7 separate regions of the Homo sapiens genome follow, and all the other regions are linked to region 3. Evidence: promoter capture Hi-C in 16 types of primary human blood cells and fetal thymus (Javierre and others, 2016). All regions are on one chromosome and are shown on one strand. Each heading gives the region's core, a stretch centred on a gene start or on the middle of the fragment in contact. The rest is flanking DNA. Distances are from core to core; before and after follow the strand shown.

Region 1 (3,636 bases), core at 176-2,675, 310 kb after region 3:
ATCTACCAATAAATCTAACACAAAATATGAAAGATCTCTACACAGAAATAATACTGTTTACTGCCAATATATGTCTATTTCCTCCTTTTTTTACTGCTATTGAAAACTTGTATTTTCTGTCTTTTTCATGGTCAATCTTGAGAGAGATCAATCAATTTTATCAATGTTTTCAAAGAACCACTTTTTGACTCTAATTATTGTTAGTTTTCTATTTAATTGGTCTGATTTAATTTTTATTATTTCCTTTCTTCTACTTTGGTTTTAATAGGGTCTTTTTTCCTAGCTTATTTAGATGAAAGGTTAAATAATTGATTTAAAATTTTTAAAAAATTCTGATATCCATTTAAAGCTAAACATTTCTCCTAAGTACGTTTTTAGCTGAATCCCATAAATTTCAACATATTATATTTTTTATTATCAGGTCTAAAATATTTTCTAATTTCTGCATGATTTATTTATAATCTCTGTTATAGGATTGTTGTTTCATTTTTAAATATTTGGAGGCTTTTTTAGACTTACTGTTACTGATTTATAGTTTAATTCCATTGTGCTCAAAAAAACATTCTATAAGTCTTAAGTTTTTAGGATTTCCTGAAATGTATTTTATAGTATTTCACATGGTCTCTCTTGATGAAAGTTCCATGTGCACTTGAAAAGAAAGTGTTTTATAAATGTCAGTTAAATCAAGTTAGTTGAGAGTATGGTTTAGACTGTCTATGTTGATACTTAGTTTTAAAACTCTACTTGTTCTTTTATGCACAAAAAGATTTTATAATCCCCAACTATAGTTGTTGGTCTATTATTACCTCTATTTCCATGATTTTTGTTTCACGTATTTTGAATTCTGTCATTAGATCCATATGCATTTATGATTGTTAAATCTTCATGATGCATAGTCCCTTTTATCATTACCAAATATCTCTTTTAATATCTATCTCCTTCCTTGCTTGCATTTCTTATCTGATATTAATATAGCCACACCGAATTTCATGTGCTCACCCTTTGCTTAGCACATATATATTTTTTCCTTTAAGCTTTCACTTTTTATATTTTTATTTAAGCTACAAGACTGGGTGTGGTGGTCGATGCCTGTAATCCCAAACTTTGGGAGGCCAAGATGGGAGGATCACTTGAGACCAGGAGTTTGAGACCTGGTGGGATCTTGGCTCGCTGCAACCTCTGGCCCCCAGGTTCCAGTGATTCTCCTGCTTCAGGTTCCCTAGTAGCTGGGATTACAGGCATGCACCACCATGCCTGGCTATTTTTTAAAATATTAGTAGAGATGGGGTTTCACCACATTGGCCAGGCTCGTCTCAAATGCCTGATTTCAAGTGATCCACCCACCTCAGCCCCCCAAAGTGCTGGGATTATAGGCATGAGCCACCGAGCCTGGCCTCCATACTATTTTCTATAGAGGTTGAACTAATTTATATTCCCACCAACAGTATATAAGCATTCCCTTATCCCCGCATCTACACCATCTTTTGTTTTTTGACTTTTTAATAGAAGCCATTCTGACTGATGTAAGATGATATTTTAATGTGTTTTTAATTTGCATTTCTCGGGTGATTAGTGATATTGAGCATTTTTTCATGAGTTTGTTGGCCATTTGTATTTTTTCTTTTGCGAAATGTCTGTTCATGTCCCTTGCCCAGTTTTTAATGGGGTGGTTTCCTTTTTTCTTGAGTTATTTCAGTTCCTTGTGAATTCTGGATATTAGTCCTTTGCCAGGGACATAATTTGCAAATATTTTCCCCCGCTCTATAGGTAGTCTATTTATTTTGTTGGTTATTTCTTTTGCTATCCAGAAGCTTTTTAGTTTAGTTAAGTCCCATGTATCTATTTTTGTTTTTCTTGCATTTGTTTTTGGGGTCTTTGTCATAAATTCTTTGCATAGGCTAATGCCCTGAAGAGATTTTCCTAAAATTCTAATATTTCTTAAACTTAATTACCTCATAAACTCTTAACTCAATCTTTTGATTTGGTATTATATGTAGAGTAACATTAAAGATGTAAATAATTATTAGAAACTTATTTTGGAACATTTTAAATGTGTACTAAAGTTGACAATATAATGAATTCCTATCTACCCATCACCCAGCTCAACAATTATCAACATTTTCCCATTCTTATTTGTCTATACCCTATCTTATATATGAGTTTTCTCTAGATTATTATAAACCACATAACAGATATTGCATAATTTCACATATAAATATTACAATATACATCTTTAATAGATAATTATAAAAAAGGCTTAGCTTAGCAGTATTTCATCACGAATAACAACATTTTACAAATAATGTCACATCATCCAATAAGTGGCCCAATGTTCTATTTTCTTCTTTTATCTAAAAACATGTCTTTTTACAGTTTTTTGAATCAAGATCCAAACACAGACCACATATTGTATTTAGTTAATATGTCTCTAAATGGCTTTTTAAAATAATGTCATATATTTGTTGAAGATACTAGTTTATTATTTTTCTACCTCTAGGTATGGTGGTTGTATCTCTATCACCCATATTTCCTGTAAGTTGACAATTGATAGACTTGATTAGATTCAGATTCAACTTTGGAAAAAATACTTTATAGGTGGTGCTATACATAGCATCTTTCATTGCATCAGGGGCATGTAGGGGGCATATTATTGAGTTTCACTTTTAGTGATGTTAAGATTGATCAGTAGGTTAATGTGTTGCTTGTTATATAGTGATGAGAGGCCAGATAATTTCATTACAGTTTGCCAATGGTGATTTACTAATTCTATAATCTTTTTACATTTATTAGCTAGAATTCTTCCATGGAGAAGATTTTCATTAGGTATTTGGTTACTATGGCAGATTGATTTTCCTGAAAGGCAGACATTGAGATGGAGATAAGTGGAGGGCATTTAGTAAGCATTGCTTTTGGGATCAATATTTTTTGGAAGAGAGTTCAAGATGTTCAGATACACCAACCTAGCTCTCCCTACCTCATGTGTCAAGATCATACTTTTTTCCCAGACAGAAACCTGATGTTGGTGTTGCAGACCTGCCTTGGTTGGAAGTTTAACCTTTTTTGGAGTTTTGCTACTTTTATAGGCCTCGTCATCAGCTTTTTCTGTACAGTCTGCCTTCCCACCTTAGGAGAAAAGACATGACTCCTCTTCCTCCAGTCTCTCTCTCTCTCTGACCAAGGTGACCTATGACTTTTACACTTAACTTTTATTTGTAAATTAATCACTCTTAGTTTTCATCTTTCTTCCCAGAGTGTTACTTGAGCTCACTCAAGTCTCCTTATAATTACTACTCCCCCATGTTTCACAATTTGACACATTGCACTAGCTAATGCATTTCTCTTCAGCAGTGCACCAACCTAGTGAAAATATTACCATTTGCATTGGTATCTTGTGCCAGAGGCTATTTGTGCTCCACCTGCCATCAGCGGTAGGCTCCTCATTGCCAGCTCTGGAGCAGGTTAATTCAGCTCTAAAACCTTATTTTAGGTTTTGCTTTCTTAAACCACACATGACAATAACTGCTTGCAACAGGTTAGATTTCTTGGGAAGCAAACTGTCATGGAGGTTAGCATCCAGGATACTGACTAGGGAGTGCCCTTGGGAACAGGAGTGGGCAGAGGGAGGAATTGACCTGT
Region 2 (3,643 bases), core at 307-2,806, 350 kb before region 3:
ATGCACTCAACAAATATTTGCTAAAGGAAAGAGGAAGAAAAGGAAATAGAACCCCAAGGAAAACAGCTTTTAAGAGAGTCTCCATTATCTGCAGAGCTGAACTCTACACTCAACTCCAGAACATTACTGCTACTATAGCACTCCCGTAACACTTCAAGCAGAGATGAACAACAAATTAATCAATAACCAAATGGGAATGAAGGAAGCTTTATAAAACAGTGGTGGGGTGGGGAGAGTGCTATGTATGTGTTCCTGCTTTTAAGAATCTAACCTGGTTGACAGACTGAGATTCTGGATCCTCCTGAGAATTGATGGTGATATTATCACACCTCTAACAAATTATATAAAGCTACCTAAGTTTACTTACTGTCAAAAAAAATCGTTCCCCAAAACACACTTAGTGTAAGAACTATGATGACTGTTGGAATAAATTCAAGCAAAGATCTTAAAGGAAAGCTTTTAATCTCTATAATTGCAGGGTGTGAGATGCTTCCGCAAAAATGAAGACAGTAAAGGTAATCAAGAGTCAATGATACTCACTAAGAACAAATAGAGGTTAGAGTCTGTAACCCTTCCAGTTAAATATGAACAGGCTAGACAGGTTAAAATGAAGTTGTTCTCAAGGCAACTACCAAATCCTCACTAATAAGAGTGAACTGTGATCACCATCTGATTATTTCTCCAGTGGAACCATAAATTGGTTCCTTGCAAACTAACAAAAACAGACCTTCATTATATCCTCTTATTTACTATACAATAAACTTTATCAAGTGACATTCTTTGTCTAATATGACCCTATCACAAAATGAAACCATGAAAATATATTGTTATTTCCCCCACTGAATGGTTTCTACTTCTAACACATAATTCTGAGATAGCTTTACTTAACCTGATTCTATGAAACACTAGTCCTTTCAAAGAATATTCCCTAGGTGTTAGGGTAGGGGCAAACTCAGGGGGTTAAATAAGCTTGAGAAAGACTGAATATTCTTCCAATTTAGATACTCATACATTAAAAACAATGAGATTCCTGAACCACAAAATCTGTTTAATCTAGTGGGGTTTTTTGTTTGTTTTTGAGACAGAGTCTCACTCTGTCACCCAGACTGGAGTGCAGTGGCATAATCCTGGCTCACTGCAGCCTCCTCCTCCTGGGTTCAAACAATTCTCCTGCCTCAGCCTCGGGAGTAGCTGGGATTACATGCACACGTCATCACATCCTGGCTAATTTTTGTATTTTTAGTAGATGGGGTTTTGCCATGTTAACCGAGCTGGTCTTGAACTCCTGGCTTCAAGTGATCTGCCCACCTTGGCCTCTCAAAGTGCTGGGATTACAGGCATGAGCCACTGCGCCTGGCCTAACCTAGTGTTTCTTAAACATTATAGAACCCAAGCAACAAATTTGGGGGAAAAGCTCCAAACTTGGAAAAGTTATCTATCAAATCAACAATTTCATGGCTTGGGCCTCTGGAATCTTTACTGTGAAACGTATTTCATGGCCTAAGTCAAAAGTTAACCAGAAACCCAACTATACAAACTTGTAACTTTAAAGATACCTGGGTTTCTGTTGCTATAAGTTTGAATAATTCTTACTTTCATAAAATATTATCAAAGCACTCTCCCTGGGGCCTTTACTTCTATAAAAACTTTCACTAACCCATGATTCTTATGAAATGTGATTATCAAAACATATCCTTCTCTACAACATATATATATAGGAAATTATCTGTATAAAAATATTCTAGCCGTCTGCATAATTTAGTCTTGCATATAACAGAAATCTGATGTTTAACTTAAAAGATACATAGACTGATCCTAATTTTATTAACTATGTACATCAACCAGGCATATCAAAACCTTGGAGAACAATGGCTGCAAAAATGAACTATACATAAATTAGGAAGGAAGTTACATCTGGGCAGCAAAGCCTTTTAACATACATTTAACATCACTGTATGTCTGGGTGGATATTATAAAGGAGAAACTTTCTTGACTGGAGAATAAGGTAGAAAGTTGGTGCAACTCACAAGCTCACAAATAGGTAGTAATTCCAAAGCAGAAAAGAAGAGAAAAAAATATTAAATTGAAAACGTAAGTCTGAGACACAACTAAAAAATAATTATCTGAGAACTTCAAAGCTTTCAAGTTCAAATTTCTCTATGTATTAATTCTAACAACTGCATAAATCAGATCACAAGCAACACAGAGATTCAAACTGGGTATTAATATAACTATCAGCAATTTAACCATTTTTAGTCTTTCTGTTGCATTCCTACACAATGCCTTTTTCATGACTATTCTTTAAAAATCACACAGCATAAATTTGCTTAAGTTCACCTCTCTTTTCAGTATACTTCAGTATATTGCTTAAATTCACCTCTTTCAGTATATTTAGAACAGTCTCTGATGATGCCGCAGAATCACATCATTCTCATACTGATCAATAAAGAAGCTATCCTTAAATTTTAGAAAAACTGCTCTGTACAAAGCATCACTGTAAAACCCATCACAGATTTTACTACTTGCAAAGAAGCTCAGATAATAAAACCATTTCATGGCATTTCAGAGGTACAGGGATGGATGAGAAAAGTAAAAACAACAATCACAAAAATAACAAAAAACTTACTTTGATGGCTCCCCAAGGGTAACAACTTCATTCTACGACTAATTCACTCAGGGAATGATCAGCGGGCAAGTTCTGTCGCACTTAGGGAAATGATTAGTAGGCAAGTTCTGTTCCCAAGATGTCAATAACCAAATCACATAAGAATTTAAACTAAATCTTCAGCCATGAATTATATATTGAAGTCAGGAAGAACCAGGCAGATCGCATAAGATGGGAGTATCTAATCCCTGATGACTTTTCCCTTAGTTCTCCAAACTCTAGCAACACTGGCCTCCTTGCTGTTGCTCTACTGGACCTCAGTCTTGATCCCTGCCTTGACGTAGAGGAATGCTATCCAAGTCTCTCTGCTCAACTGTTACCTCCTGAGAGAAGTATCTCTGACTTCTCTCTCTAAACAAGGCTCATCTGTCTTATTCACAGCTGTATGACCAGCAACAAGAACAGGATCTGACACAAATGCTCAATAAGTACTTGTTGAATGAATTCATTAATCTACACATAATTTAATAATACAAAAACAAATCTGATGACAATTTAAAAACAAGTATATTAACAAAATATCTGATATCCAATCCCAATTTGAAGTCCAGAAAAAAACAAACTTAAAATCAGATCTCTATACTTGCTATTTGCTTTTGGAAATGAGTGAGTAAAACACGTAAAAGCCCACGTAGATATAAAGTTATATGTTAATTCTGAGAAACCACAGCACATATATAATGATTCCATGTTATATAGAGTCCGTAAAGATCTGATGATTCACAAGCAAAGACAAAAGTTTGGTATTAGTGTCTTAAGTATACTCTATTTAATACACATGCATAGTATTTTAAAAGTATAATAATCTAGAATATAAATAAAAGTATAAAAGGTAGAATGGTCTAGAATATAAATATGCAAAATGAGGTTAACAGAATTCCTGTTCTACATCACCAAGTCCGATCATTAAATAAAAATTTAAAATGTTAAATATGGCTTGGTCAGAATATATAGAAATAACCATTTTTAGGTTAAAAA
Region 3 (4,190 bases), core at 295-2,794:
ACCCTGGGAAATAAAGGAAAGAAAAACAGGCTTTATCCTATAGTGACTGCAGTCTAATCCCCCTCAGGCAAGCTGCTCTTTTGTTAGGTGGACGCAGCCTTTCCAGGCTTTTGCGATGTTAGCAATGGCTCAAGCTCAAGAGTTAACTTACATTTGCTGGCTAGCAGCTCGTCAAATGCTTCTGACCACAGCTGTGCTTCCTCAGGAGAAGGCCTGCAAGAGAGGTTCTGTATGTTAGCTTACGCACATCAGAGTTCCCCTTTTCAGTTCAGCAGCTAACTATTGATATTTGCAAGCACAGGATTCTCAACTTACTTGATGAAAGCTTGCTGTTTGCTTTTTTTGCCGGTTTTGGGCTTCCCAGGAGTAGAGGAATTTTGTAAGAAGTAGCTCAAACGGGTCTTCCAATCTTTTAAACTAAAACAAAAAATTAAAAAGATAATTACTAACTAGCAACACTTGAATATGCTACTGCAGCTGAACGCATTTTTACCAAATAAAGTCACCCAGTAACTAGAGACAAACCGCATAAGGCAAAGCAAGAACTCTTCAAATAAGTCTTATCCACCTAACATTTAAACCTCATGTACTGAGCAGTTTCGTCCATTAATCTGACCGTATCTACTAGTTTTACAACTAAGGGCAGGGCTACCTATAATCACTAGGGTATTTTAAAGAATTGTTAATGAATTTAGTTCAAAAGGCAGACACTATTTCTGGCTCACAAAGGGCATCAGTTTGTTTGCAAGGTTAATTACAATTCCGAGACGTTTTGCACTTTAATGAAAAGGACAGACATGGAACTGTCTGGAGCCGGCCCACGCTTCTCTCTTTAGAGCAGGAGGTTCTGGACCACGCCAGAGACTGTACAAAGAGGTGGGTGACTGATTCCCCTGCGCTCTTCCTTCCCCACCTACGACACTTCTTTTAAGCAGACGCTGCATAACAATTATTTGTTCCACATTCGGACTGGGTGAGATCTGCTCTATAATTAAAAAACAAAAATGGATTTTAAACGAGTATATTCAGAACCAGCAAGAGCATCACCTTCCAGTAGCTGTGTAAGCTGATGAGAACTCATCATGCAACGTATGAATGCTGGGGACGCGCTTCAGCCGCAGGATTCTGATGTCATTTTGAATGCAGGAGGACAAAAAGCCAACCCGCAATTTCTTAGCGCATCAACCACCGCCCTCATATCAACTGTCTCCCTCGGTTCTTAAACTGTACCCGAGCATCACCCAGATTTAACCTTACTTAACAAATTGACCTTTTCGATTTTTTTTCCCTGCATAGGCTCAGGCTAGTTTCCTAACGTCAAAGGCGAGCCCGAAAGTACCGCGTTTGCAGCTTGCAGTGTGGGGCAGGGGGTGGCGGGAGAGGGAAGAAAGCCATACTCACAGGGTCCGTTTCATCTTTTCTCGCTTCTCCTCGCTCTTGTGGCCACTGCCTGCGCTCTTGTCCATGGGTCTGCAGTCGTGTTGAACAGCCAAGAACATAGCACTTTGCATTATCGTTCTCCCGCTGGAGCCCCGGCTGTTTGCGGCTGGGCGTGCGTCGCAGCATTTATGAGGCCTCGGCTTGGGGGCGGGGCCTCGCGGCTCCGGCCCCGCCTCAAGAGGACGCGGATTGGTCGGCTGCAGACTGGCACGGGGATGGGTCAGCGCCCGCCGGCGGCAGTCACGGCTGCTGCCGAAGGGTCTCGAAGCCGGGGCGCTGCTGACGTCTGCGGCCCCGGCTTCTTGCGCACTCGGGCCACATAGCAGCGGCCAGCTGGGGCAGGTGTGGGAGCAGATGGAGAGTCTTCAGTGTGGGCCGCTGCGCACGACCTTTTGCTGAAGCGTGGCGGCCGGGCGGGCTCGAGGGCTTTGCGACGGAGGGAGGGAGCCGAAGTTGGCGGCGGCCCGGCGGGGGCGCCGGCGCTCCCTCACCCACCCTGACGGGCTCCCCAGCCCGAGGCCAGAGCGGCGATTCCCTGGCAGGAGGAGGTCGCCCGCCACGAGGCCGGAGTGCAGTGGCCTGATTTCGAATGAAGAGTGGGATTTTTCTTCCTTTTTTGAGCGCGTTCCCTGACCCCGCGCCTCATTTCTTGTTTGCTGTCCTGCTGTAGGACTCATTCGACACCCCCTGGTCTGTGAACTGAGGCAATGGGGAGACCCTCGCCCGTTTCTCTCTGCCACTTAACTTAAGGAAGGAGTAACCTGAAACGTTGATTGCCCAGGGGCAGGGTGGGATCTGCTCTGCAGCTTGCTGGGGCGTCTTGGAACACTTTGAGAATGAACATTAGGGATTGAACAAGAGAAAGTGACTTTATCAGAAGACAGTGCTTTAATTGGGTTTGCATTTTTGATCACTACTAGGCACGTGGCTGGGTCTGTCTATAGGGTCATTCCTCAGGAGTCCTTGGTCACATCTCCTGCCAAAATAGAAATCACAGATTTCCTTATGGTGGGAGAGAAAGCTGCAGACATAGAGATTTCATAGCTGTAATGCACCAGAATCAGTGAGTTCAAGGAGTCAGGATTTCCTCATGAGTCATTCTTGTTGAGTTAGGATTTACCAGAACATTTAATAACTGGCAAAAAGTAGGGGGGAGAATGAGTTAACAGTTTCCTTGATTAAGTTTTATTTGTTAATTCTTCAAGTATCATCTCTACTCCTGAAGGTTTTAAAACGACTTGATTGGTAAAGACAAATAGATTACCTCAACCACAAAATGAGTTGATTTCGGATAATATTACCAGAACTAGCCAGTGAAATGTTTAAGCGGCTTTGCAACCAAGCTGCAGATATTCTCTCTACTTTGTATTCGACTTCTTAAAAGGAAATTGGAAATAATTAATATATTCTTACGGTGAGCTGCCAGTAGTTGGAGCTCCAAGTTTGACTTGGAGGGCAAAACCTGCAGTTATTATTTAAGACAACAGTTGTGGACTTTATTGTGGAAAGGAAAATCGTGTAGATTTCAGTAATAGATACTTTGAAACATGCTTGTTAACTCTAGGAATGCCATTTTTTCTTAAGCATATGCTCTTCCTCTCCTATGCTTTGCATAATAGTCCTACATCTATTTTCACTTTCTGATGACTCAATACGTATTTATCAGCTGTCTGTAATACGCAGACACTTGCTTTTTCTCACCACTGTAAACCTCAATATATTTTATACTTAGAACCTTAGATGTTAGAATTTACTCATAGACAGTTAAATTCGCTGGCAGGCCAGGAGTTCTGACAAAGAGGCAGCAGAGAGAGAGAGCTGGACTTCTGTCAGGAGACCCAGTTAGAGCCTGGGCTTATCCAGTAAATGCTAAGTAACTGTTGGGACACTAGCTTCACACCTCTTTGAGTCCCAGTTTCTCATCTGTAATAAGAGTAACATGTATTTTCTTGCCAGCCTCATAGGATATTATGTGACTCTTACATGAAAGGTCTTTTCTAAGCTCTAAAGTACTGTACGGAAGTTTATTACTGATTTGCATATGTGTGGCAAAAGGAAATGTTCAAATCATAGCTGTTCAAGATGGAAAAAATCGTACGAGGATTAACTCAGACGTAATTAGGTTATAAATATGTAGGTACTATTAAATATCAAGATGTTTCAATTTGTAGGTACACAAATACACAAGATACACAAATTTGTAGAAGATTAAGCTCATTATAGATATTTAATAAATGCTCACTGGATAATACGTAGGAAAAATAAGGAAACTGATTAACATTTAAACTTTTCAGGCTGGGTATTGTGGTTCATGCTGGAAATCCCAGCACTTTGGGAGGCTGAGGCAGGTGGAAGGCTTGAGCTCAGAAGTTCGAGGTTCAAGCATTCAAGTTACAGTGAGCTATGATTGTGCCATTGCACTCCAACCTGAGTGATAGAGTGAGACCCTGTCTCTTAAAATAATAATAATAATTAATTACACTTTTCAGATATCTCCAAGCCAAGGAAGTTTAATCATCTCAATATATTAATGAAAGTGAATATACATGTACCTGCATAAGCAACTGGTTTAAATATAGATTATTCTTGATGTTTTTGTGTTTAATATAATTCTTTGCTTTTTTCATAAACCCTTCCAGATCAGTGACTGATGTTAGGTGGCAGAAAATTAATTTTTCTCTGAAAATTATGTGGTTGGTTAATAAATCTGGATATAAATCAACTTGTAATTTTTGTATCTATATGTAATT
Region 4 (4,094 bases), core at 1,118-3,617, 380 kb before region 3:
CTAAAAGTCAAACATTATCTCTTGGTCTGTAATCCTATAAACTTGGCATGTCTCTTGTCTGCTTTGCTGTAAGGGTTTGCTGTAGGGGCTTGGTCAGGGTGGTGGGAGAAATTATAAAATTACAGGAAAAAAGCAAACCTTCTTGGAAGGCCGGAAGGTTTTGCAAAAGCCTCTGGATAGGGTTATGGCTGAAAGCAGCCTAATTCTCTTACCTTGAGTTAACAGCTCAGAGTAGGTAAAAAGGAATGTAAGGGAGTTTATCTAAAGAGCTTGTTTACACATGTGGTCCTAAGACTGGCTTTTGATCATTCATAGGACTGCTCTCTCCAGCGGAGGGTGACCAGATTAATTAACCACACACGTGTTGACTCAATGCCTTTGTCATTAAATCTGTGCTGAATAAATGCCGGCAAGGCCAGTTAGTTGGCACGTGGCTGCCACAACTCCTTCTGTGAGTGGCCCCCTGCTCTTTCACTGAATATCAGTGTCTGAGTACGTTATTCATCCATCGTGCAGCCTGGTTCTGTAGGTCAGACCCCGGCACTTCGCAAAGTTCCTTTACACTGAAGTCCCTATTTCTAATCGGGCCATAACCAATCATACTGAAGATGGCTACATGAATCAAGCATGTTCAATGTTCCCTTCTTTCTTCAAAAAAGCCCTTTAGGAAAAAAAAATTCTATTTACTTACTTCCAACACTTGCTTTCTTGTTTTGTCTTTTATGAGACAGTGTCTCACTCTGTCGCCCAGGCTGGAGTGCAGTGGCGCGATCTCGGCTCACTGCAATTTCCGCCTCCCAGGTCCAAGTGATTCTCGTGCCTCAGCCTCCCAGGTAGCTGGGATTACAGGCATGTACCACCACGTCTGGCTGATTTTTGTATTTTTAGTAGAGATGGGGTTTTGCCATGTCAGCCAGGCTGGTCTTGAACTCACAATCTCAGGTGATTCGCTCATCTCGGCCTCCCAAAGTGCTGGAATTACAGGCATGAGCTACCATGCTTGGCTCCCAACACTTGCTTTCTATTCGTATCTACTACAGCCATTAAAATAAATACTTTCTGATACTAATAATTTATATTAGGGTAACTATGCCTCTTTGCAAAGTTTTAGTAGAATTTTAAGTTTCGATATTTTACATATACTTGAATTTACAAATTGTTTGTTATACTTTAAATAAATTAATAGTGTTAATAATTTTAAATATCAAGAATATGCTGGGTTTGCAGAGAATGGAGAGTAAGCTGCCTGAAATAATTTATTCAAAGGTGCTGACCCAGTGGATGTCACAGTTCTATCAAATTCAACACATGCCCTTTATATTTACTTTACATGGAACAAGTATTTATATAAGAAATACTTTACAATGACCCCTCTTAACTACCTGAAATGAAATGCACAGGTAATACAACCAATCTACATATATATTTTAAAAATTAATACACTAATACAAATAAAATTTTTAAAGACATTAATGATAGAGGCCAGGTGTGGTGGCTCAGGCCTATAATCCCCCGCACTTTGGGAGGACGAGGTGGGCAGATCACTTGAGGTTAGGAGTTTGAGACCAGCCTGCAACATGACGAAACCGCGACTCTACTAAAAATACAAAAATTAGCCAAGTGTGGTGGCACACGCCTGTAATCCCAGCTACTCGGGTGGCTGACGAAGGAGAATCACTTGAAACTGGGAGGTGGAAGTTGCAGTGAGCCAAGATCACGCCACTGCACTCCAGCCTGGGCAACAGAGCGAGACTGTCTCAAAAAACAAACAAAAAGAGAGATTTATGATAAAAATATGCATTTCAGTATGTAAGTCTCAGACATGATTATACCAGAAGATATACTAACCAGATGCTAATACCTATACATAAAGTCATAGTGAATGTAACAATTACAAATGCCCATAGACTGGTATATTGGTGACTCAAATGCCATGAACACAATTTCATTTTTTGATATGGTGAACCATTGGCCAAGTTTAGAACAAAGCAAAGTACAAGCTTCCCTCACTGTACACTGTAGTTACATTTCTAGATAATTCAGTGCACGTTAAAACTGAACAAAATATACTTTATGTTCCAACAATGTTTTAAATTTACTTAATTATAAAAAAGTGTTTCACCTACACAGATAGCCAATGAAACACTCAGAAGTCCTGCAGAACACAGAGCTAGTCTTTGCTGTTTACAAAGACTGTCCCACACACTACTGGACTACTACCTACCCTGGCCCTAAAATGCCCTTAAAAATCATTCTGTTAACTAGAAACATCCTCACAAACTTCTAGAACACCTCGTAGAAATCAGTACTACCCCTACCACTGCCCCCTTGAGAACCACAGCTCTAAGAGTATTATTCCTGACTGAAACAGCTGTGCCTCAGAAAAACCAAGGAATACACAAGCATAATAAAGTATTTGCCAAATCACTGCTGATTGTAAATGCTCATTGTTAATAGTTTGCATGAATTAAAACAGATAAAGGTGTCTATAATTAGTTCTGAAAGAGACACTTAAATTTAGCTTTGTTTTCAAGTCAAAAGAAATTCTTAAACAACATGCCTATCTGCTGCACAAGAAAACTGAAGGAGAAAAATAAGGCAGGCAAACACTGACACTTGTGGTCATTCTGAGATTGCTTATTTGCAATCAGGCTAATTCTTGCTTTGTGAGTTCAAGGAAAGTAAAGCTGGTTCATAAATCATCCACTGACTTTAGAGGAAAATTACAAGCTTTTAATAAACATTTGACTTCTCTTCAAAAAGGGGAAACTACCTATACTAATATTAAATAACCAAAAACAAGCCATTTGTCCAAATCCCTTATGTAATGAAAAAGACTGCATCTGATTATAAATAAAAACAGTCAAGAGAAATAAACTCCAAGCAAACATCATGCAAAATTGTCTAGTCATCTCAATAAAACTAAAATTGGTCTCTAAATAATTGTGTCAAGTGACAGTTTTCAGAGTGGTATGGTGGAAATTATACCTGATCTAAAACATTAAGATTTTTGTCCAACATGGGAAAAAATAGCTGGTATTTCTGGTAAGTCCTAGCTGAAATTAATTCCTTGAATTCAGGGACCAACCACTCATAATAAAGCACAAACAGGAAAGGAGACCAATATAAGAAGACCAGATTCATGTCTCCCTTCTAATGTTACTCAAGGATTTTGCTCATTCCCATTAGATGAAAATCATCCACCCTGGTTGAAGTGCTCTCCCCCTACCTTTCTCTTTTAATCTTTTTACCAAGGACATATTGTTGAATGTACATACATAGATAAACAGATGATGTAACTCCATGAGTTACTATTTAGTAGCCACTTGAACAGCAGATTTACATCTGATTCAACATGTAATAATCATTCAAAACCATTAACTACATGAATACAAAAATAATTATTCCTATACCCAGTAAAAACTGACAATTAGGAGGCATTACAATTCCTGTCTTTAAATTCTGACTCCTTGAAGTCTATACTAGACATGCCCAGGAAAATGCTAAAACCGGCCTGGACAGCTCTGGCCATGATGCACATAGTAACGGCCACCTATTTTGCCATCACGGATGTGTTGTAGGATTAAAAATAGACTTATGCAAGTGACAATTACAAGCCATTTATAACTATAAAACTTAACAAAATAGCTGCCAGTTTGCTGAATCTGAAAAAGAAACCTGTCACATTTACTGAATTAGTTTAACCATAGAATTCAGATGTTAAAAGAAACTAGACTAAAGGAAGAACTTCTACAAGCTCTCCTGTCATAAGATTTTTACAGTTTCTCTTGACTGGAAACATGTAGGTTGCTACAAAAAGTTACTAAAGGAACTTTTATCTCACATCTGCCCTGTTTTCCTGAACTTTACGTAAAGTTCTTAACTAGCTTAACTTAAATTTAACAAACAGGTTGGCTGGGCACTGTGGCTCACGTCTGTAATCCTAGCACTTTGGGAGGCCAAGGCAGGTGGATCACCTGAGGTCAGGAGTTTGAGACTGGCCTGGGCAACATAGTAAAACCTCACTTCTAGTAAAAATACAACAATTAGCCGGGTGTGGTGGCACACGCCTGTAATCCCAGGTACTCGGCAGG
Region 5 (3,819 bases), core at 995-3,494, 330 kb after region 3:
ATGTGGGGTTTTATTGAGTGGTGGAGGTGGCTCTCAGCAGGATGGATGGGGAGCTAGAAGGGGGATGGAGTGGAAAAATGACCTGACCTGGGAGTTTGGCCATCCAGCAGCTGAGCTCCTCTTCCACCATCCCCAGCCAAACTCCTCTCAGTGTTCAGAAATTCCTTCTCTTTGTTTTCTCTGCTGTGCTGTTCCACTGTTTGTGTTTTTATCTCCTTGTCTCTTTGTCTGCTTGTCTGCTTCTGGAGCCTGGGGTTCGGAGTTTTTGTGGGTACAGGATAGAGGGGCATGGGGGGCCAAAAGGCAGCTTTTTGGGTACAAAGACAGAAATGACTGTTCCCACTTAGGGCTGTGGGTCTCCAGGCTTAAGGGTGAAGCCTTTGCTGGGGAACTGCCCTCTTTTACTCAGTATTTCCCTATCTCCTGTCCATATCAGTAGCAAGTGCATCAAACGTGTTTTGAGGTGAAACATTACACACCAAGGAAGAGAAGAGATATGGAAGACTAGAAAAGGCACAGTCTAAGGATATAGAAGGATGATTTTAATCTATATAATATTGAAAAATTACTAAATAATTTAATTTCAGAATGAAGATGCTGGGACTTCAGGTGGAATAATTATAATTTATTATTTTCAACTCAGTTTTTATACTTATGTGTACCAATTATATAACTGATCTGTCCTGCTTCACCAACAACTTCTACAAAACAAGGTTATATTTATCAAGATATGCTGTATAAACACATTAATATCAGACAAAATAGACTATAAGGCAATACATATCACTAGAGATTAAGTAGACTACTTCATAATTACAAGAAGTTTAGTTTAGCAAGTGGCAATATAAATTCTAATTTGGAATGGACAAACTATATGACATATATATGTATAAAAATGAGCAGAACTAGATTGAGAAATAATTAAATACACAGTGATATGGGAAGATTTCAAAGCAGCTTCCCCTAATGGTAATACAAACTTTGAAACTGCAAAATTCATATCCCTCTATCACACATAAACCATCTATAAATTTCAGTGCATTTAAAATAACAGTGTGTTCTCTGACCACAGTAAAAATAAAGTAAACCAGACCACAAAAAAGAAAACCAAACTGGAAACAGCCTGTATACTTGAAAATTAAAAAATGTGTTTATATAAAAACTATGAGAGAAGAAATCACAATGAAAATTAGGAATATCATGAAATACATAATAAAAGTACAACATGTAGAATTTGTGGGACTGTATTAAAGATGAGTTCAAAGAGAAATTTAAATTGAAAATCCTATATGTCTATATTTTACAGGAAAGTCTAAAAATCAATCAACTAAACCTCCATTTCATGGTGTTGAATGTAGGAAAAAAAAGAGCAAATTCAATCCAAAGGCTATAATAGAAACAAAAACAACATGGCAGAAAAAAAGGAGTAGAACAAACACATAAACAAAGGCATCATCAAAGTTGCTAAATTTAAAATATTAATAAAATTGATAAAACCTTTAACAAATATTATGTATAATTATAAATAAGTTCTCCATCTGTTTCAATAAAAAGGCTAGGAGACTACTGTCATTAATTTAATTCTTCATATACTGGAGGATATGTAGCAATGCAGTAGGAAGAAGAAATAAAAATAAAAATATAGCAAAGTAAGAAAATTGATATTATTTGCAGAACAGAGGATCATATATATGGAAAATTCAAGAGATTCTACACATAGTTAATATCAATTAATAAAAGAATTTAGCAAGTTAGATAACTTCAGCCATGTACAGAAATTGTATTTATATGTAACAGTAACAGAGTTAGAAATTAAAATTAGGATATTATTTAAAATAGTATAAAAATATTTACACACCTAACTCTAAATATGTTCAAGAACTCTGCATAGAAAAGTGTAAAATATCATTTAAAAGAATTAAAATAAGACTCAAATAAACAAAGAAACAGAAGGACGTACTACATTCATAGGTTGTAAGACCCAATATTGTAAAGAGGGCAGTTCTATGAAAATCATTTATTACCATTCAATCAAGATTCCAACATGTTCTTACTGTTTTGGGAATATTGCTCGTTAGGTTGTGTCCATATATGTGCATGTGTGTGTGTGTAAATAAAAAGTCTTCATTTCAAAGTCTGGAATCAATTATTTTACAAGTTTCAAACATTTTTCTAGCATCTTGAAAGTTTGTCGGCCCAAAGCACTGTGCCTACAACAACTAATAGGTAAAATGACCCATTTGGAGTTTGGGTCTTTGTATTCCCAGATTCATGATCCTCTTACTATGCTACCTTCTCTCTCTGTTCTAATGAATATATATCATTTAATTATCTTGTTAATTTTAAAAATTAATGTATGTGTTGTTGAATGATTTTACTTTAAAATTTACATAAGTATGAGGTAGAAAATTGTGCTTACTAATTTTATATAACAATGAAGTTAAAATAAACTTATAAACTTTTAACTGATATTTGTGTCCTTACATAGTAAGTATCTTTGTTCTTCTATTTTCATGTTTGAAAAATAACGGTTTCTACCCATATTCAGAAAGCTCATTAAGAATTTACTGCTTTAGCTGGTACTGATTATTCACTGTATTTGTCTGCCCTCTAGTGATTGCAGAATAAAGTCTAAGGAAAAATTACCAGAGGTAAGAGTCAGTCGATTAGTTTTGCAGAAACTCTCATTATTTAAGTTTAACCTGGCTTCTTGTATAACACATTTCTAAATCATTTAGAAATCTACTACATGTCAATAACATAGACATTGGCATACAACAGTTTGATGCTGTTATAGTGTTATACTATGTGTGGATTAAGCTAAACGACTAATAAAATAATTTATATGTTGAAAAAATGAAAATGAATAAAAGGAATATATAATTATACACAAAATTTACTGGGCACCTACTCTCTGTGCTAAGCTCTTTTCATACATTATGTTATTTTATCTGTACAGCAGTTCCTTAAGAAGTCCCTGTTTTATAGATAAGAAAATTCAGGCTTAGTGCGGTTAAGCAACTTGATTAAGGTCAAATACCAGATAATAATAATAATATTAATAGCTATATTTATCAAGCATTTTTTAGTGCCACAGAAAGGTGCTCTGTTAAGCACTTTGTATGTCTATATTAGTCATTGCTCAGAATAGGAAACAAACCACTCTAGAGACTGAAAACAGAAGTGGGTTAATACTGCAAGTGAGATCCTGACAATCAGTGGGAGGGCCAGAGAAGTCGGTTTTTGAGTGGATATTGTGGGATGACTGCCAAAACAATGTGCAACTGACTCATTAGGAGTGCCCGCTCTGAGGTCATTACTGCAGTGATGTCACAAATCTCAAAACACTGAAAAGTCTGAAATACGCATGCAAACTCCGTTGCACAGAAACCTGTTCCTACCACGTTGCTAGCCAGCAGGAACAGCCAAGCGTTCGCGTCCAACTTCTCCCTCTGGTTGGCAGACACAATTCACACCCAGAGCCCTTGCTGCCAAGGAGTCTGCTAAATGTAGCGTTTATCTCCTCAGCTCCTATGTACAAAAAAGGAACATGGAAACGGGTGGGGTTGGCTGCTGGGAGCCAGTCAACCACACCCAGCATAACGCGTTATCCAATTTAGTCCTCATAGAGATTCATAGGATTGTTTCTCCATTTCATAGAGGAAGAAATAGATGCACCGGCAAGTTAAATAATCTGCTAAATAAACAGGATAGGAACCTATGTCTCTCTTATTCCAAAGTGCAGCACATCTCACTATCTCAATATGACACTATGTTATCATTAATTCATTAATTCTATGTTAGTGTTGAACATCTCTC
Region 6 (4,012 bases), core at 1,341-3,840, 330 kb before region 3:
CAGCCAAGATGAAGTACCAGAGACTAGACTAACCCTCCAGCCTTTAAATAACCAGTCAAAATACATAAAACAATGGTTTACTAGATGCTAGATATCAAGCAATGAAGGACAGTAATTCCCTAACAAATGAGAAACAAACAAGGTAAGCCCTATGACTGCCTCAGCTTATTGCCTGTAAGTTTCCAAGACATGGCCTTGGGAGGAGAACCCATGTAGAGCTGAGCGGATTCTCTGATAAGAAGAAATGGAGCTGAGACTACAGCAAGACCAAGGTGTTTAGAATTCATAGGTCAGAAGACCTGAGAACTGCACAGAAGATCCCCCTCACGTACCCCAGCAGAATTCTGACTAGCACAAATATGAAGAAACTATGTAAGGTTGAATAAAGAACCACCCAAGTGAATTAGACAGAATAATGCCTAGTGTTCACACAAAGTGAAGAATAGTGCCTGTTCCACTAGCCAGAATGAAACCTCACGTTCATGAAGTATTAGGTACTCAGAATGGTCTTCCCTCAGTGGGTGGGGAATAATTACCCTAGCTGACCAATGTTCAGATAAATTAAAATCAAGACCCAAAAGTAACAAACTGTTTCCAAGGGATTTAACTGTGTCCCAAAAAAAAGCTAAAGATGATGTGGGGAGATATAACAATATCTAGCCCTCAACAAGGTAAAAAGTATATATGATGTTTGGTGTGCAAAGATCACATGATATGTAATAAAGCAGGAAAATGTAATAAAGCAGACATGTAATAAAGCAGAACGAGGAGAAATATCAATCAATCTCAAGGCATGAAAATAATTACAAGAACTACGTTCTATATTTCAACAAGCTAAATGAAAAGATGAAGTAGGTATGTTTTTTAAAAAAGAGCAAAACATGCAAAAATTAGCTGGGCGTGGTGGCATGCACCTGTAATCCCAGCTACTCGGGAGGCTGAGGCAGGAGAATCACTTGAACCCGGGAGGCAGAGGTTGCAGTGAGCCGAGATCACGCCACTGCACTCCAGCCTGGGTCACAAGAGCGAAACTCCGTCTCAAAAAAAAAAAGAGCAAAACAAACTTCAGATGAAAACTACAATGCTGGAGACTAAACATGCATGGAATTACATAAAAAAAATTAAGTAAAGTTGAAAACACAACAGAAACTATCCAAAAAGGACTCAAGAAAGAATTTAACAGATATAAAGTTAATTCAAAAAAAGAGAAGAATGTAAGTGAACTGTCAAAGAAAAAAATACTAAAGTTCAGCCAGGCGCGGTGGCTCACGCCTGTAATCCCAGCACTTTGGGAGGCCAAGGCGGACAGATCACGAGTTCAGGAGTTTGAGACCAGCCTGGCCAACATGGTGAAAACATCATCTCTACTAAAAGTATAAAAATTAGCCCGGCGTGGTGGCAGGCGCCTGTAATCCCAGCTACTCGGGAAGCTGAGGCAGGAGAATCGCTTGAAACCAGAAGACAGAGGTTGCAGTGAGCCAAGATCGCACCACTGCACTCTAGCCTGGGTGAAAAAGTGAAACTCCGTCTCCAAAAAAAAAAAAAAAAATTAAAGTTCAGTACAACAGAAACTATCCAAAAATAATTCAAAAAAGAATATAAACAGACAGATAGAAAAGAATCCAAAAAAAAGAAAAGAATGTAAGTGAGCTGTCAAACAACTTCAAGTAGAGTTTGAGTAGCTGGAATCCAGAAAAATGAAAACATTTTTAAAAAGTGAAGAAACTATGCCCATCCATTCATGTATTGTCTATGGCTGCTTTCCCCACACCACAAAAGTTCAGTAGTTTCAAGAGACCATATTACCTTCAAAGCTAAAAATATTTAACATGTGGCACTTTCCAGAAAAAGCTTGCTGACTTCTGGTGTAAGTAATCAATAAGAGGTAACATAAAATGAATTTCTCAGCTTATAACGCAATTTTTAAAAAGAAAGACCAACATGGTAATAGAAACAAGAAGACTTTTCAAAAAGCATGATAAACACAATGACTTCCAATCCCCACACATGTTCTTACGAACTTAAGAGCAAAGAGGCATAAAATGAATCCAAGAGGTAAATGTAAATGTGGAGAGCATTTTAATATTCCTTTTCCTTATACTTTTACATATATCTAAACTACCTACTTTCTACTTAAAAAGAATTCTTACCTAATCTGTTCAGTCTGTACAATCCCTTCTTTGTGACCCTCCAAACGGGCAGCCAATCTCTCTTTATCAAGGCGCACACACTCTTCATCCTGGAAATAACCACTGGTTAATGCATTTAAAATTTTTATTGAACTTTTAGGAAGAAAAAACGCTACATGTAACTTTTCCTTACCAAATTTCCTACCTCTACAATTCTAGGTATCAGTGTCTTTAGGCCAACTTCAAGACTACTTTTGGCTACGTAAAGATAATAACAATAAATATATGTTGAATCTTAAGACTGGAATCATCGAAAAGCTTAGGAAAAACTTGCTTAGCTACTTTTTTCTTTATGATTAAGTGCTCTTCCCATATCATAGCTGACTTTCTTCAGAAAGACACAACAAATAAATTCATCTTTTTGAGAAAGTTAATAACCAAATGTTATGACAAGCCTTCACCAGAGTCAACAATTTCATTTTGGTATCTCCATTTTTTTTTCATCTGTTGCTACAGGTCCTGAATCCATTAGCACTAATCAAAATGCTCTAAGGAAAACCTTAAAGGTTTTCAAAGGATGGTCATTAGAACGTTAGAAGCTTCCAACTAAACGCCTCATGGGCCACTTCAAGATTTTGTCTGAAATTCAACCCTGGTAGCTCAGCTTTTATCTAATTCACATATTATGATGTCAAGTAAAATTTAGTCTGAAAAGCTGTTGGTTAAAAACAAAACAAAATCTGGTAACCCTGATCCAGTTTAATGTCCACATTCAACAAATAACAAAACTGAGGACCAGAGTCAATGACTATGACTAATGAAATACAAAACTGTATAAAAAGCATCAGCATACTCTAGAGATCCAAAAAGATGTTGGGCTCCAATTCATGTCCTATTATTAATCTATCATGTAAAAATCTTAAAATGAATAAATCAGCTGAAATAAATGCAAAAATATTTTGGCAAATGCATCCAACTTTTTCCATTTGCAATAAAGATATAGCCCAGATTTCTCAAATTCCTTACTACTGATTTTAAAGATAACTGCAGCCTAGATTTTTATCAAATCAGAAACTCTACCCTCAGTTTCTCTTTCCTAGCACAGTTCCTTATAGATCCTCAAAAGACATACACTGAACTGAAAACCAATGTTGAAAACCATAGCTGTTTATGTAACACATTTCAACCCCACAAATGATTTGGAAAAAAATGTATTATGCCATTTCCTGCTGATTTTTTAAGTTACTGGAATCCCAGGAAACTAGGACTTCTGCCATGTTGAATTTTTTCAAATAATTAGACTGTGATGTTCAGATTGTTTCAAATAAATGGCATCCCTTGAGCTGGGCGCAGTGGCTCATGGCAGTAATCCCAGCACTTCGGGAGGCCGAGGTGGGCAGAATGCTTGAGGCCAGGAATTTGAGATCAAATAAATGGTATCCCTAAATTCATACACATTGTTTACCACAGGTCACAATCTCCTTTCATATAAGGGGAAATATTCAGTTTTACTGCCACAAAATTTATACCCAGTATAGCAGAATGGCTAGAAACCAGACTGCCAAGGTTCCAACTGGTTCTTCAAACCTCAGGAACTCACTCTGTCTGAGCCTATTCGCTCATAGATGATATGCACAGTACTACCAACTTAATGAGTTCTGGGAGTACTATGCATATCATCTATGAGCAAATACGATTACATGAGTTAATACATATAAAGTACTTAGAATAACACATAGCATAGAGCAATAACAATGAATCAATTATCATCATTATCTCTTAAAAATATCAGATCCATTTCTCAGAATATCCTTAATTAAGATTACATTAAAGTAGTAAGTACTTCATGTTCACAGCTCTGAGCAGTAAAGCAAGCACCCATA
Region 7 (3,610 bases), core at 88-2,587, 350 kb after region 3:
TTTCCTTCCTATTCAATACTTCCCCATCTGTTGCCATCAAGTTTCCACTGAACATTTTTTTTAAATTTAAAATAGGCTTGTGTTTCTTATAATTTGTGGAATTAAAAAAAAGATGTCGTTTTGGTTATGACCAGATGCAGCTCTGTATGGCAGAAAGCTTGAAAGAACGTGGCTTAAATATGATGGGAAGCTTATTTGTTTCTCACATAAAGAATTCCAGGGAAAAGCAGTCCATAGCAGGTATGGTGACTCCATGGTCAGTCATCAGGAACCCATGCTCCTTCTAGATCTCCACTCTGCCACCCTGAGGGCGAAGCTGTCATCCTTGTGGCTCCCCATGTAGTCACTCCCACAGAACTTCTCATCTGTATTTCAGGGGATAGTACAGAGAAATGGATGAAGAACATATTTTTTCTTTCCTAATGAGGCTTTCTGGAAGTTCCACAGAACACTTTCATTTATGCAGAACTTTACACACATCTTACTGGCCAGTACGTAGAGATAAAGAAAATTGGAAAACATAGACTTTCAGCTGACTGCAATTTGTGAAGGTCAAAATTAGGACTCTATTATTTTGAAAGATAAGTTAAGAATGTGAATTTGAAAGGTGACAATGTGCCTCTGTCACAGAAAGATGAAATCCAGTATGAAGGGACATGGTGGGCCAAATGGGAACTGTGGTTGGGTGAGCTGGACAGCAGCAGGAAACCAAGCTGTGAAGTGAACTGACAGAAAATCAGCCCCACTCCAGCCCTAACCCCTCAACCCCACCCTTGAGAATGTGCAGGAATTTATTGGAGGACAGTGGTACAATTGCTATAGGATGCACAGCAAGGGCTCAAGCCATTCTTCTTGAATATTCTATTTGATCTCAATAAGACTTACCTGTACCCAGGAGGCAGACATATGAATCATGGGCTAGGAAGTCCTCTTGTCCACTTCTTAGACTGTAACAGCTTAGATTTTACTTCACTCTCAGAACTCCTCTTTATACCCACCCATCCCACCTCGGATTTATACTTCTATATTCTGTCATCTGAAACATCTGTTTTGGTAAAAATATCTGATTAGGTACCTTTTAAAGTATTTCTAACAAACATCGTCTCTTTTTTATTAAACAAATATGTGTTATGTGAATTGAGAATTATTGCCAACACCTCGGCCAGTTATATAAGTGTTGATCTGTGAATCAAATTTCTGATTTTTATTGTTGATACCCTATTTTCAGGCTTTGCTTGGGCTATTCTGGATAAATATGAAGGGAGCATCAGGGTTTGTGTTAAGGTCTCTATATGGTTAAGGTTCCCAAAGGAAGGAGAAAAATACGTGCAAAAATTATCATCTCAGGCTCCTAAGCTGTGCTTCCAGAAAACAAAAGAAAAAAACTCTCTCTGAGGAGGAAAAAAGTCAAAAAACCTGTTTTTCAGTTTGGGCCATGACAATAAAAATTGGTGTACGTGGTGGGTTGCCAGTACAATATCGGTGCAAAAGTCCCTTAGGCCTACTTCCGCAAGACTTGTTTTGCAGTTTTGACAAAATGGCGGAAAAAGAGAGGGGTCCATAGATTTTTAATTTTATTACAATGAGATGTGTTTCAACTCTTTTGCAATAAAACGTGAGGGCCAGATTTTTTTTGACTGGCATAAATTGTAAATTAGTGGTACTATAACATTTAAAATTAAATAAATTTATTTATGGATATAATAGAAATCATGGTTAAAGGTAAATTTTGCTCAACAAAATCAGAAATTATCAAAACTTTTGGTTTTAGGAACCCCTTTATGCTCTGAAACTCTACTAAAGACATCAAAACAATTTATGTATTTATATTTACAATAATAGAAATTAATGTTTAAAAAATTTATATTAATTTATTTAAAAACCAATAATAATCCCATTACACACTAGCTTAAATAATATATTTTAATGAAGTGACTATATTTTTCAAATAAAAGTTTAGTGAGAAGAAAAGCAGTGTTTTACATTTTTGCAAATCTCCTTAATATTGGGTCTAATAGAGGACTGCTGGATTATTGTAACTGCTTCTACATCCAATCTTTTTTGATATGTTGCTCTGTTTGAAGTAAATGAAGAAACTCCAGTCTTGCATACATGTATGTAGTTTAAAATGGAGGAATATTTTAATAGCTTTTAAAGATAGCTGTGAATAGTCTTCTTTGGAACTACATCCAAACCTGGCTATAGTAGTTTCTTCAAGGTTAATTGTAATGTAGAATCTAAAACTATCTCAATAAACTTCTCATGACATTAAAATCCACTGGTCTATTGTGTGATGTGAATGTTGATTCTGTAATATGATGCATTGAACACTTAGAGAATATTGTTATGCTGAGTTATACAGGTCTTCCAAATGTTGATGAACTTCATTACACAATATCAAAAATTTCATTCATTAATATCACTACCAAAATTCATCAGGCAACTCTTTAAGTGTTGGAAAGCTGTCAAGCTAATGGAAGCTTTCACTTGAAGCTTAAATTGTGCTATTGGCAATAAATACTGTCAGTTGTTTTCCTTAAGTGACAGGCTCATTTTGTTCATTTTTGAGGAAATGTCTGCCAAATATCCAAGTCTGAATAACCACATTTATCTACAAGTTTTTCTTTTCAGTAAAAATTGTTTCACAAAATAGCAGCTAGTTCAGCTCATAACCTAATTGCACAATTTTTTTTTTTCTCACAACAATCATACTTCAGTATGCAACAGCAGGGCTTTATGTGTACTTTCCATTTTATCACACAGAATGTTGAAAAGATAAGTACTCAAGGGTCCAGATTTAATAACACTAATACTTTTTGCTGTTTCACCAAGGACTTTTTTTAAAATTTATTGTTTTATTTTTATTTTTTGGCAGAGTTTCGCTCTTGTTGCCCAGGCTGGAGTGCAATGGTGAGATCTCGGTTCACTGCAACCTCCACCTCGCGGGTTCAAGCGATTTGCCTACCTCAGCCTCCCGAGTAGCTGGGATTGCAGGTGCCTGCCACCACGCCTGGCTAATTTTTTTGTATTTTTAGCAGAGACAAGGTTTCGCCATATTGGCCAGGCTGGTCTCGAACTCCTGACCTCAGGTGATCTGCCTGCCTTGGCCTCCCAAAGTGCTGGGATTACAGGTATGAGCCACCACGCCCGGCCAAGGACATTCTTAAGTGAAAGTGGATGTATTGGCAGTGAGGAAAATAATAAAGAGATTAATATCAAACCACTATACAGTTGGTACCACTGCATTGATTCATCTTAAAATGTCAGCTGTTGGACTCATCATTGTTTTGCACATTCAGTGTAAATCTCAACACAGTGAAAACAACAAATAATCTTATTGTTAAAATGGCTCTGAGTTTGCTGACCCCCTGAAATTGTCTTGGGGGACTCCCAGGGGTCTGCAGATCACATTTTGAGAACTGCTAAGCTGAAGTGTTCAAAGGATGATTCCCCATAAACAGATACCATTGGATTTTAGTGTTCAGTTCTTTTTTCGAACTCCTTGAAAGTTAATCCAACACAAATTAATTTTTGTGTTCTTAATCGCAATCAAATAAATAGTTTACTGAGCAAACTTATTTTGGTAATTGAAAATGTCTACTAGTGACAG

What was found. Contacts are between HindIII fragments. The CHiCAGO score rates a contact against its expected background, and 5 or more counts as called.
Region 1: a contact is called between a fragment that was not itself captured here and the fragment with the promoter of RGS2 in region 3, in 1 of 17 cell types (total B cells). The highest score is 5.8, in total B cells.
Region 2: a fragment that was not itself captured here is called in contact with the fragment with the promoter of RGS2 in region 3 in 1 of 17 cell types (monocytes); the score reaches 5.9 in monocytes.
Region 4: a contact is called between a fragment that was not itself captured here and the fragment with the promoter of RGS2 in region 3, in 1 of 17 cell types (naive B cells). The highest score is 5.2, in naive B cells.
Region 5: a fragment that was not itself captured here is called in contact with the fragment with the promoter of RGS2 in region 3 in 16 of 17 cell types (naive B cells, M1 macrophages, M2 macrophages and 13 more); the score reaches 17.5 in naive B cells.
Region 6: a contact is called between a fragment that was not itself captured here and the fragment with the promoter of RGS2 in region 3, in 3 of 17 cell types (total CD8 T cells, non-activated CD4 T cells and monocytes). The highest score is 6.4, in total CD8 T cells.
Region 7: a contact is called between a fragment that was not itself captured here and the fragment with the promoter of RGS2 in region 3, in 1 of 17 cell types (naive B cells). The highest score is 5.2, in naive B cells.

The regions. Positions count from the first base shown.
Region 1 is chr1:192,492,385-192,496,020 of GRCh38, reverse strand. No RefSeq gene overlaps it. Among named protein-coding and RNA genes, the nearest start is that of RGS1, 82 kb to the left of the region's middle. The HindIII fragment of the contact is 777 bases long and covers 1,037-1,813 here.
Region 2 is chr1:193,153,212-193,156,854 of GRCh38, reverse strand. The region is part of intron 10 of CDC73 (cell division cycle 73); the gene reads right to left. Among named protein-coding and RNA genes, the nearest start is that of MIR1278, 19 kb to the right of the region's middle. The HindIII fragment of the contact is 1,169 bases long and covers 972-2,140 here.
Region 3 is chr1:192,806,393-192,810,582 of GRCh38, reverse strand. It overlaps RGS2 (regulator of G protein signaling 2), which reads right to left and starts at 1,544. Exons shown (of 5, transcript NM_002923.4): 1 at 1,402-1,544; 2 at 316-417; 3 at 152-213. The coding sequence starts at 1,511. RefSeq lists silencers at 291-350, 1,858-2,067, 3,004-3,093 and an enhancer at 1,308-1,527. The HindIII fragment of the contact is 4,593 bases long and covers 328-4,190 here.
Region 4 is chr1:193,189,073-193,193,166 of GRCh38, reverse strand. The region is part of intron 10 of CDC73 (cell division cycle 73); the gene reads right to left. Among named protein-coding and RNA genes, the nearest start is that of B3GALT2, 4.5 kb to the right of the region's middle. The HindIII fragment of the contact is 730 bases long and covers 2,003-2,732 here.
Region 5 is chr1:192,476,596-192,480,414 of GRCh38, reverse strand. No RefSeq gene overlaps it. Among named protein-coding and RNA genes, the nearest start is that of RGS1, 97 kb to the left of the region's middle. The HindIII fragment of the contact is 4,574 bases long and covers 1-3,819 here.
Region 6 is chr1:193,136,312-193,140,323 of GRCh38, reverse strand. CDC73 (cell division cycle 73) reads right to left here. Exons shown (of 17, transcript NM_024529.5): 6 at 2,151-2,239. It overlaps MIR1278 (microRNA 1278), which reads right to left and starts at 3,821; the gene lies at 3,741-3,821. The HindIII fragment of the contact is 281 bases long and covers 2,450-2,730 here.
Region 7 is chr1:192,458,570-192,462,179 of GRCh38, reverse strand. No RefSeq gene overlaps it. Among named protein-coding and RNA genes, the nearest start is that of RGS1, 120 kb to the left of the region's middle. The HindIII fragment of the contact is 2,290 bases long and covers 193-2,482 here.